Regions from separate parts of the Homo sapiens genome. Here region 1 is linked to region 2. The links are contacts of gene promoters, found by promoter capture Hi-C in blood cells and fetal thymus (Javierre and others, 2016). All regions are on one chromosome and are shown on one strand. Each heading gives the region's core, a stretch centred on a gene start or on the middle of the fragment in contact. The rest is flanking DNA. Distances are from core to core; before and after follow the strand shown.

Region 1 (5,335 bases), core at 164-2,663, 260 kb before region 2:
GGAACTGCTGGATTTGTAAGGGGTGCATGTCTTTAAGTTTATGAGATAATGCCAAATTGTTTTTCAAAATGTTTCTGCTAATTTATACTCCTCTCAGCAATGGTTTCTATCGTGCAGCATCCTCATTGACTTTTAATTTTGTCAAAAGTTTTAATTTTGCCCATTTTGTGATTATAAAATGAAATGCTATTGTGGTCTTAATTAGCAGCAGTGTTCTCTGATTACTTTTAAGGTCTTAATTAGCAGCAGTGTTCTCTGATTACTTTTAAGGTTTTTTATTTATTTATTTTCTGTTTTGTTTTGTCTTGTTTAGAAATAAGGTCTTGCTAGGTTGCCCAGGCTGGCCCCTCAAACTCCTGGGTTCAAGCAGTCCTCCTGCCTCAGCCACCCAAGTAGCTGGGACTACAGTCATGTGCCACTACACCTGGCTTATTTTTCGTTTTTGTTTTCTGTCAGATGTCTTTTTGTCTCATGCTCATTTTCCTACTTGGAAATTTGTCTTTTTCTTACTGATTTTCAGAAATTCTTGGTAGTTGAAATAATAATCCTTTTTAGGCATATGTCTTGTCTCAGTTTATGGCTTGTGTTTTCACTTTCCTTTTAATATTGTTGGATTTATCAATCTTGTCTTTATAGTTAATAGTTTTTATATTTTTTTTCTTTTTTTGAGACAGAGTCTTGCTCTTTCGCCCAGGCTTACAGGCATGCCACCATGCCCAGCCAATTTTTATATTTTTTATAGAGACAGGATTTCACTGTGTTTCCCAGGCTGGTCTCAAACTCCTGGCCTCAAGCAATCTTCCCACCTCAGCCTCCCAAAGTTTTGGGATTACAGGCGTGAGCCACCATACCCAGCCTCTTCAGTTTTCTTCTAAACATTTTAATGCTTTCTTTTCTCTTTCAATTTTTAATCAAGTTGGAAATTCTTTCTGGGTTTGGCATAAGGCGGGAATCCATTTTACTTTCTTCCGTGTGAGTAACAAACTGTCCCAGCACCATTTAGTGAGTAATTTACCCTTTCTTCAGTGCCATTACTCATGTACATGCAATTGTCAGTTTGTGGGATTCTCTTTCATTCCATTGTTTAAGCTGTCTGTCCTAATATCAAAGCCATGCTGTCTGTATTACTAGAGCTTTGGAATAAGTTATAGTAATAAGCTTACTATTATTAATAAGTAATAATAAGCCTTGATATCTGGAAGGATAGGCCTTCCTCGATTTGTTCTTCAAAATTTCTTGTCTACTCTTGGACCTTTGTATTCTTTCATATACATTTTAGAATCAGGTTATCTAATTTTTGAAAAATTCTGGTAAGAGTTTGATTGGGATTACATTAAATTTCTAGGCCAATTTGGAGAGAACTGATATCTCTGAATATTGAATCTTTGAATCCATGAATATGGCATATCTCTCCATTTCTTGGGTCTTTTCAAAAGTCTTTGAATACAGTTTTAAAATTTTCTTCCAGGGCCTTGGTCAGCTTTTGTTGGGCTTCGTCCTGGATGCCCTTCCTTTTTGATACTATAAGCAGTATATATATTCAGATTGTTTGTTACTGGTGTTTAAAAATGCTGTTTGTCCATTTTTGTATAGTGCTCTTGTTTACAGCAGCTTTGCTAAACTTTCTTATTAATTCACAGAATTTGTCTATAGACTTTTACAAGCTTTTTTAACCAGATAATTACTTCTGCTAAAAATAATGACAGCTTTATTTTTCCTTTCCAACCACGTATCTTTTCTGTTTACCTTGTTCTACTCCACTTATGAGAGCCTCCTTAATGTTGAGTAAAAGCCGTGGTATGGGCATTCCTGCCTTGATCCTGGTGTTTAAAGGAAATGTTTTTAATACGTCACCGTAAAGAAAGATGTTTGTTATAGGTTTGTTGGAGATATCAGGAAAAGGAAATTCCTTTCTATCTCCAGTTTGCTACTATTTTTTTAAATCATTAATGGGTATTGCATTTTATCATAGTTTTTTCCTGCATCTTTTGAGCTGTCAGATTGTTCTTCACCTTTAATCTGTTAATGTAGTGAATGTTAATGTTAAACATTAGCCACCTTTGCATTTCAGGATTAAGCCACCTTGGTCCTAAATAATAGTTATTTTTTAATGCAGAGCTGGCTTTAGTTTGCTAATTATTTTATTTATTTATTTTTTTGAGACAGAGTCTCCCTCCATCGCCCAGGCTGGAGTGCAGTGGTGCAGTCTCTGCTCACTGCAACTTCCACCTCCTGGGTTCAAGTGATTCTCCCGCCTCAGCCTCCTGAGTAGCTGGGATTACAGCGTGTGCCACCACACATGGCTAATTTTTGTAATTTTAGTAGAGGTGGGGTTTTACCATGTTGGCCAGGCTGGCCTTGAGCTCCTGACCCCAGTTGATCCACCCACCTCATAGTTTGCTAGTTTACTAATATTTTTATATTCTTGATTTTTGCATTTATGTTTATGAGAGAGGGATTGCTTATGATTTTTCTTTGTCATTATTTGCTGGTGTTCACTTAAATATATACTATTTCATAAAATGAGTTGGTGAGTGTTTCTTTTTCTTTTCTTTACAAGCATTTATTTATAACATTGTTATCATTTGTTCTTTAAAACTGTCGGAATTCATCTATGAAACCATTCAGGGTCTGTTGTTTCCTCTGTGGGAAGATTTTTTAAATGACTGAATCCTTACTAGTCATAAGCCTCTTTGGGCTTTCTTTTCTTCTCAGATAAACTTTGCTACTTTGAAATTTTCTAGACATTTATCAATTTGAGCCAAGTTCTTCAGCTTATTCACATAAAGTTACTTATAGCATTCTTTTATCCTTCAAATTCTGCTATAATTGTATCCTTTTTAATTTCTAATTCTGTTTTCTCATTTTTTTCTCTCTGTTAATCTTGGCAGAATTTTGTCCACTTTATCACTGTAATCTCTCAGTGTCTAAGCAGGATTGGTTCCTGGGCCACTACTCCCCGCCAACGTGGCTACCAAAATCCTTGGATGCTCAAGTCCCTTTTATGAAAGGGTGTAGTATTTGCATTTAACCTGTGTACATCCTGCTGTATACTTTAAATCATCTCTAGATTACTTATAATACCTAACACAATGTAAACGCTATATAGATGCTGTATTGTTTAGGGAATAATGACAAGAAAAAAGTCTGTACATGTTCGATACAGATGCAGTTTTTTTCCAAATATTTTTGACTCATGGTTGATTGAATCCATGAATGTGCAACCCTCAGATATGGAGGGCTGACTGTATTTTCAAAGAACCAATGCAAACTTTGTTTATCCTATTTTGTTTGTTTCAGTTTGTTACTTCCTACTTTTATTATTACTCTCTCCTTCCTCCATCCTTGTTTTTTTCTTCTGATTTCATAGGCATTTATCTAATTCGGTTTCTGTTTTATTTAACATAAGCATTTAAATTTTAATGCTTTAAATATTAAATGATGTGATGAAATGTTTTAGCTGAATTCTGTGATTTTAATACAAAATATTTTTAAAGTTGGTAATTTCCATTGTAATTTCCTCCTTAAGCAAAGACTTGTTTAGAGCTATAGTTTAAAAGTTTTAAACCTTTGCAGGGGAGTTATTTATCTTTTTGTTTCTGATATCTAATTAATTGGTCTATCTGGTATTGATTCTTTGCAGTTTGTTAATATTTATTTTATGGCTTCATGTGTCATCAGTTTTTTAGAAATGTTCCATCTGTGCTTGAGTAGATTGTATATTTATAATTGTTGGGTCTGCGGTTTCATACTAGTCTGGTAAGTCAACCTTTTAATTGTATTGTTTAGATCTTTGATATAACTAATTTTTTGATATAGCAAAAATTTAGAGGTATAAGTCTTCTACCATGAGAATGATAGATATATAATTTCCCCTTAGTTCTATCCATTTTTGCTCTCTATATTTTGAGAATATTTTATTAGATGCATAAAAGCATAGTTTCCCCGATGAACAATTCCTTTCTTCCTTATATGTTATCCTCTTAATCTTTATATGTTTCTTGTTTTAAAATCTTTTTTTTTTCCTGGTAATTTTGCAACCCCAGCTACATTACTAATCACCAAATATAGCCAATTGATTTTTGAGAGAACCTGATATTTTTTGTATAGTTGTGTCTATTAGCCACTACACTAAAATGTTTACTGCTCTAGTTGTCTTTCTCACTGAATATTTTTAAAGCGATGTTAAGAGAAGTTAATACTCACTCTCATAATTTTTTCTTATTTAGTCCTTTCTGGCAGTCTGTGAAGTTGATGGTTGGTACCTAGTTGTCCACACTGTATGGACTAACTGTAGTTACTGTGATTCCTTACCCTGGCTACCTTAGACTCAGCCAGGGTAGGTAATTTTCCAAAGATCACACAATAATAATGAGGGGGGCAATAGATCTATTAGTTTCACCTTAGAATTTCCTTAAAGTTCAGTTAGAGTTGATCAAGTCAGTATTATAACATTGTGAGTATTTTCTTTTTCCAGGTATTTTCTCGTTAAAAATTCCTCAATATGTATCGCCTAAACTTCTGACAATGTGTCTCATAAAATGGAAGCCCCATATCTACTTTAAGTGTTATTTTTAGAACAGTAACATTCTAGTGCTTTCATTGTAGAATTTTTCTGTCCTGCATCATTGTAAGATTTAGTTTCTCGCCTTAGTTTGTGAAAGTCAGCCCAAGGCTAAAATTGCTTAAGTTCTATCTTCAAGGAGACATACATACTTGTAATAAATCTTCTCCTGTCATCCTCTTTCAAGAGATGTGAAAAAGCATCGAAGGTAAACATGACAGTGCAACTAGCATTAGATTAACTTTGGCAGATTTAGGTTGTTTTGGAACTTTTCTTACTTTCAGTGTTAATGCTTCTCAATTATGTCTAGACAAAAGCATTGAACAGGGAAGTAGAGATGGATCTGAGCCCGGCCCCACCACCATACACAGCTGGCTTTAGACCAGTCATTGAACTTGTCTGAGACTTTTCTGCTCCTTTATATAAAATAAATGGAATAAATATGTCAAAATTAAAATTTAGCAAGCCTCCATACCTGCCTCAAAATTTTTGGACAAATTTAATAATGGACGCAAACTGTAAAGCACAGTATTATTGGAATATTTTTAGAAAAAATGGAAGTTGGATCCCTATCACACATTAAAATGTTTAGTGTTGAACCCTGCAAAACTCAAAGCCATCTGACCTATGTTTCTTTAAACCATCGGTGGGTCTGTGATAAAGTGTAAGCATTTTTAAAGGGTTTTTAAATCTTAGATCATCTTATTTAGTTTGTTAGAAAACACTACTTAAAAGTAAGTGAAAAGTAGTATTTCCTGTGGATTTAGGCTT
Region 2 (5,028 bases), core at 522-3,021:
TTAGCATGGCTTTAAATAACCTCCACTTAACAACTAGCAAAGTTTTAAAATTAAATAAACAATGCTAATTACCCTTCTAGTATCAAGAGGAAAGTGTAGAAAGTAATTTAATTAATTGGCTGTGAAAAATTAATTACTTATGAAATGAGACTCATTAGACCTTTCCTGTTTCATCAGAATTTCAGACTAAAGGATAACTGGTCTTATCACTTATGGTTTCTTTATGGTTCAGCTAGCATCAAATAGACTTGTGATAATAATTAAATATTTTGCCCAGATAAATTTAGGACTAGAACATTAAAAAAAAAAACATCGCGAACAAAGTAACAGTGTTACTTTTCCATTGTATTTAGTTTTTATATTTCACTGTAAAGATTTTACTGTGTGTGTGTGTGAGCGTGAGTGTGTGTGTATCATGAACTGACAAAAAAATAACAGTTAACTTTCAAATTCGGTACAGCAATATAATTTGGTTTTGTCATGTTGGGCATTAGCTAAAGTGAAAATGTGACTAAGATACTTTATGTAACATAATAACTGTTGATTACTCAGATAGTTTTCATAAACAGTTGGCAAATTTTGACTTAAAACAGCTGTCACTATAAATGTAAAGTAAATGTTAATTTAGGAATATTAACCTTGTGAATGTTTCTGTAAATAAGGCTTATGCTATTTCCAAAGGTTATAGAAAATCACTGGAGTATTTTTAGCCAAACTTAGTGCAACTTTATCCTCACTGTTTTTAAATTCTTCAGTTTTACACATAAAAGTCTTTAATCATACTTGATGGTTTTTCAGTGATTCCCTTGAGTGTACAAACTGCATAAGGAAGTGTATTTGATAGATTTACATCTTGGAAGTGAGAGAATAAATAAACTAAAGAAACAGTATTGCCAGAGATACATTTTACTCTTTTATATAAGAAAACAAAGAAAGCATTTTCAACAAGCAAAGTTGCACTGACTGTTTACTAAATAAGGTAACCTGTAAATACTTAGAGCAATTATAGCTCACAGATCTCAGGGGTTGAAGTACCAGTTGCATGCTAAAGTGAGCGCTGTTCTGTTTTGTCCTGTTTGTACAACTCATTTCCAAGTAAAATTTGTATGACAGACTGCAAACCCTCTTGTACAAACTACTAAAAATTACATCAAGTTCCATAGTTACTCTGATACACACATTCAGCATCATGTAGTATTCAGCTGTATAAATGCTTTCTAAAAAATTAATTAAAACCATTCTTTTCTCAGAACACATGCGAAAAATGCAGTGAAAGCTATAACAAAGCTTAAAACAGAGTACCTGCAACATGCTGAGCTCTTTGCAGTACTTACCCGTTCAGCAACTTAGTTTCTCCTGGCAGCACTTCTGTGCCAAATGCTTCTACCTTCCCAAAAATGTATGTCAGCACAAGCCCAGACGAAACTTCAAATCCAGGAAAATAAAATTAACCATGCAGATCAAAGGCAGACGAGCAGGGAGATGAAATGCCTGTAATCTGATCAGTGAATCAGTTGCTGAACATCAAAGGCAGGGCTGAGTTTATATATATGCATGGATATCAAAGAAAGTTCACTTTCAGCAGGTAGTTACCCTCCCACCTCCTAGTCCACAGACTCTTTTGTTAAACATGGATCACGTTGTTTTCCTCCTCTTTTTTGCAATGAGGCAATGCTGGTAGTTCTCCCATGCTTGGGCTGAGTGGCTGGATCTGTAGCTTTTTTGGTTCCCAAGCTGTGTTGTGGACTGTGTGTTGGAAGCTTTTCCTAGTGCCAGCGGGTTCTGCTTTATCCCTTTCATCTCGCTGAACTGCAGATCCCATGACATCATTCAGCGCCGTGGGACTGGTAGGAGAGCTATAATTCAGCCTGTGGGGGAGTATAGCTCAAGAGAAGCCAGAGTTTGGCTGATTTCTAATCATGTTAGACTATTGTGCCTCACACAGGACAGTTTCTGTTATCTGTCTGCCAGCTGGAAAGGACAGCAACTGCTGCTGGATGCTTCTTGGGTGATAAGATCCCTGATGGATGGACGTGCCAAATGACAGCATTTAATTGCCTCTTCGCTGATAAAAATCACAATTTCCTACAGAGACTGGGTGTCAAATATTCAGCATAGTTAAATAGCACTATGAGACCACTCTAAAAAACACCCAAGGACACTGCCAGATGGACCGATAACATTTTCACATTTTGATTCCAGTTTTCAAAGTGACAAGTCTTTAAGGATTTTAAGGAAACTGCCCTTTCTTTGAAACATACATTATTAGGATCTGATTACCAATCAAACCGGGTTGTGTTAAGTAGTTAAGCAGCAGATAACCAACAATTCATGAATAAACTGCCATCTTCCACTGGCTCACTTAAGACTTTGGGCGGAGACTTAATCTCAATCTTTGCCTTAGTTCGGGACTCTGGAAATTAGATTTTAAAGCAATATCTACTTCTTAGACATATTTCATTAATACTTGTTGAGCATTTTAAAATTCACAAAAGAAGAATTATGTAGAACAAAGCATTTGCCCTGTGATTATTCCAAAGCCATGTTATTTGCCTTTTAGGGCTGTTTCTTCCGAACTCATAGTTTGGACTTTCAACTCACTAAAAAATTACCACCTTAGCCTAATTCTTCGTATTTTAAAATTAAATATATTGCTCATTATTTAAAAATTTTAAGCTATTTTCCTTAACAATGTCAGATTCAATACAATATGATTATTTTATTTTGAGTATTTAGTAAAATAGAAGATAAGAAGAAGTTTCATCTTCCTTGAAATCCAGGATATGGTGCTTTTCTGATTTTCAGACAGTTCTTTCATGGAATGAAGACAATTTTTCTATTTTATAATGGAAACTCACTAACTTTTAGAAAGTAAGTTAAAAATATTTTTGCAAAACTTAGGGGATAGTAGAACTCAGTCTTTTTCAATGTAACTTCCCTCCTTAACTGGTTTTGTCTAATTTTTCCTGACGCGATATTTGAAAACGTTATTTATGAAGTGTTTATTTCCAGATTTCTATGATTCTTGAATAATTTTAATAGCAAAATATTTAGTTTGAACTGTTCATAAGTTCTGTATAACATTTAAATAGTCCTGTTGATTTTTCCATGTTTCTTGTATAATTTTTCTACTTATACATCATTTCTCAAAAATGCACAGGGCTCAAATAGTATTTGAACTGGCAGGTGTGATGCTTAAGGACTTCCTTAAAGCAGACCAGGAAAATTCCTGTGACATCTGGGCTTCACATACGTTTCCTGGGCATCTTGAACCCATGAATACAAAGAAAATATTTACAAAGACAAAATATTTACAAGAAGGCATGTGCCCATTTCTTTTCTGAGGTAGTCCAAACCTACCACCAGCATGGAATCCATATGCCAACAGCCTGCACTCAGGATTAAAGTTTCCCGATACACTGATATATTAAATCAGAGCAACTAGACACTCTGTAAGGCTCATTGGCTAAGCAAGTAGATTTTATGTCTTTATAGATTTCAACACCAGTAGAAATAGGTGAAGGACTGAATTCGGGTTCTTGTGTTCCACTGAAAAACATACAGGAGGCACTTGAAAGCAGGGACTTGAATGAAAACCAATCAAATGATCTTCAATTTATACAAATCTCCCCAAGCAAGCTTTGTAGTTCAAGATACATCCAACAATGCAATACCATCTCCAGTGGAAGAGTTTATTCACCAAGTCACTGGATATTATTTTGAATTGGTCCTCTTGTGGCCAAGAACTCCCCATATGTGAGATGAAAGGGGACTGAGGCTAGGGCCCCATCTGTCGCCTGGACCAGAGTGTGGCTAAAGGTCGGCCTGGCTGCAGGAGTGACCTCTTGACCTGCGGCTCATTTAGCACTGTGCCCAGCCAGCCGAGCCCCCTTCGTTGTGAGGTGTGGCCTGCACCATTGTTGTTTCTGAACAGCACCAGGAAGGGGAGCTACTACAAAGCTTTTCTCTTTCCCCTTCAAGAAGCTTAGATTAGTGTGATTAAATCAGTGTGATACAGTGGTGATAAGAGATCCAGCACTCCACTCGACATCATTGTCCGTTGTCATGACACCAAGTTACAGCATTTGATCAATGGTTCCTGTGCCATGTTGCAGTACACTTGGCTCATCTTAGTCTTTTTGTCAAGCTGCCTTTCAGCGACCTGGTTCTGCAAAGTGGTTGTGGCAGCCATTGGATCCACAGTGGGGAGCTCCAGGCTACACTTTAAAAGAAGTGGTCAGTGTTTGAGATGACGGGCATGCCAGTTACCCTGATCTGATCACTATACCTTATAGGTATAGAAATGTCACTAGGTGCCCAGGGATATGTATAATTATTATTAATCAGTTAAAAAATAAAATAAATGATTGAGAAAACTTCAGTTGTTCATATCCAAGAAGGGAGGGGCTGCCTGAGATTCCTGATGGGGAGTGGGGTCTCATGTCACCCCCAGTCGCCACCATGTGCTATTTTCTTCCCAAAACTTGGAGCGTGGTTCCTTTGCTCCTTTATCTTGACAGGTGGATGCCATGAATTCTCACCATTTTAAGATATAGATCAGGTGATAACACATTTTCCCCATAAAGTTTCATAGTTTTTTGAGTTGTCTGCATGTCTTTTCTAATGCCGTCTTTTCTAACTTTTCTGTTCAGAGGATATATCCTGGATTAGATCAGATAAACACAGATCTATTACATACATTGAGAGGAATAATTTCTGCATTTGTTTCAACTGAACACTTTTTAGAAAATGAAATAGCTCATGGTTATGAAAAGAACACGGATGCTGGAGTCAGAAAGGCCTATGTTCAAATCCCTCTTACTACCTGTACTTGAATAACAGCTTAGGCAGTGTGGACGAAGGCTACCTAGTCCCACTGAGCTTTTTAATCCTAAGCTGCAGGAAGGGGATAACACCTACCTCATTAGTGTTGCCAAAATAACAAACTTATTTCGAAAGCATCAGGCAGAATAAACCCTCAACAGAAGAGCTAAGGTTCCTTTCTTTTCTCTGTAACTATTAAAATGC

The links. The method cuts DNA at HindIII sites, captures the fragments that hold promoters and counts their contacts. A CHiCAGO score of 5 or more calls a contact.
Region 1: a fragment that was not itself captured here is called in contact with the fragment with the promoter of TNFRSF19 in region 2 in 6 of 17 cell types (M2 macrophages, M0 macrophages, fetal thymus and 3 more); the score reaches 7.4 in M2 macrophages.

Annotation. Positions count from the first base shown.
Region 1 is chr13:23,824,755-23,830,089 of GRCh38, reverse strand. The region is part of intron 14 of MIPEP (mitochondrial intermediate peptidase); the gene reads left to right. Among named protein-coding and RNA genes, the nearest start is that of PCOTH, 61 kb to the left of the region's middle. The HindIII fragment of the contact is 506 bases long and covers 1,161-1,666 here.
Region 2 is chr13:23,567,155-23,572,182 of GRCh38, reverse strand. TNFRSF19 (TNF receptor superfamily member 19) reads right to left here and starts at 1,771. Exons shown (of 10, transcript NM_148957.4): 1 at 1,335-1,771. RefSeq lists enhancers at 3,336-3,847, 3,848-4,360. The HindIII fragment of the contact is 1,879 bases long and covers 1,763-3,641 here.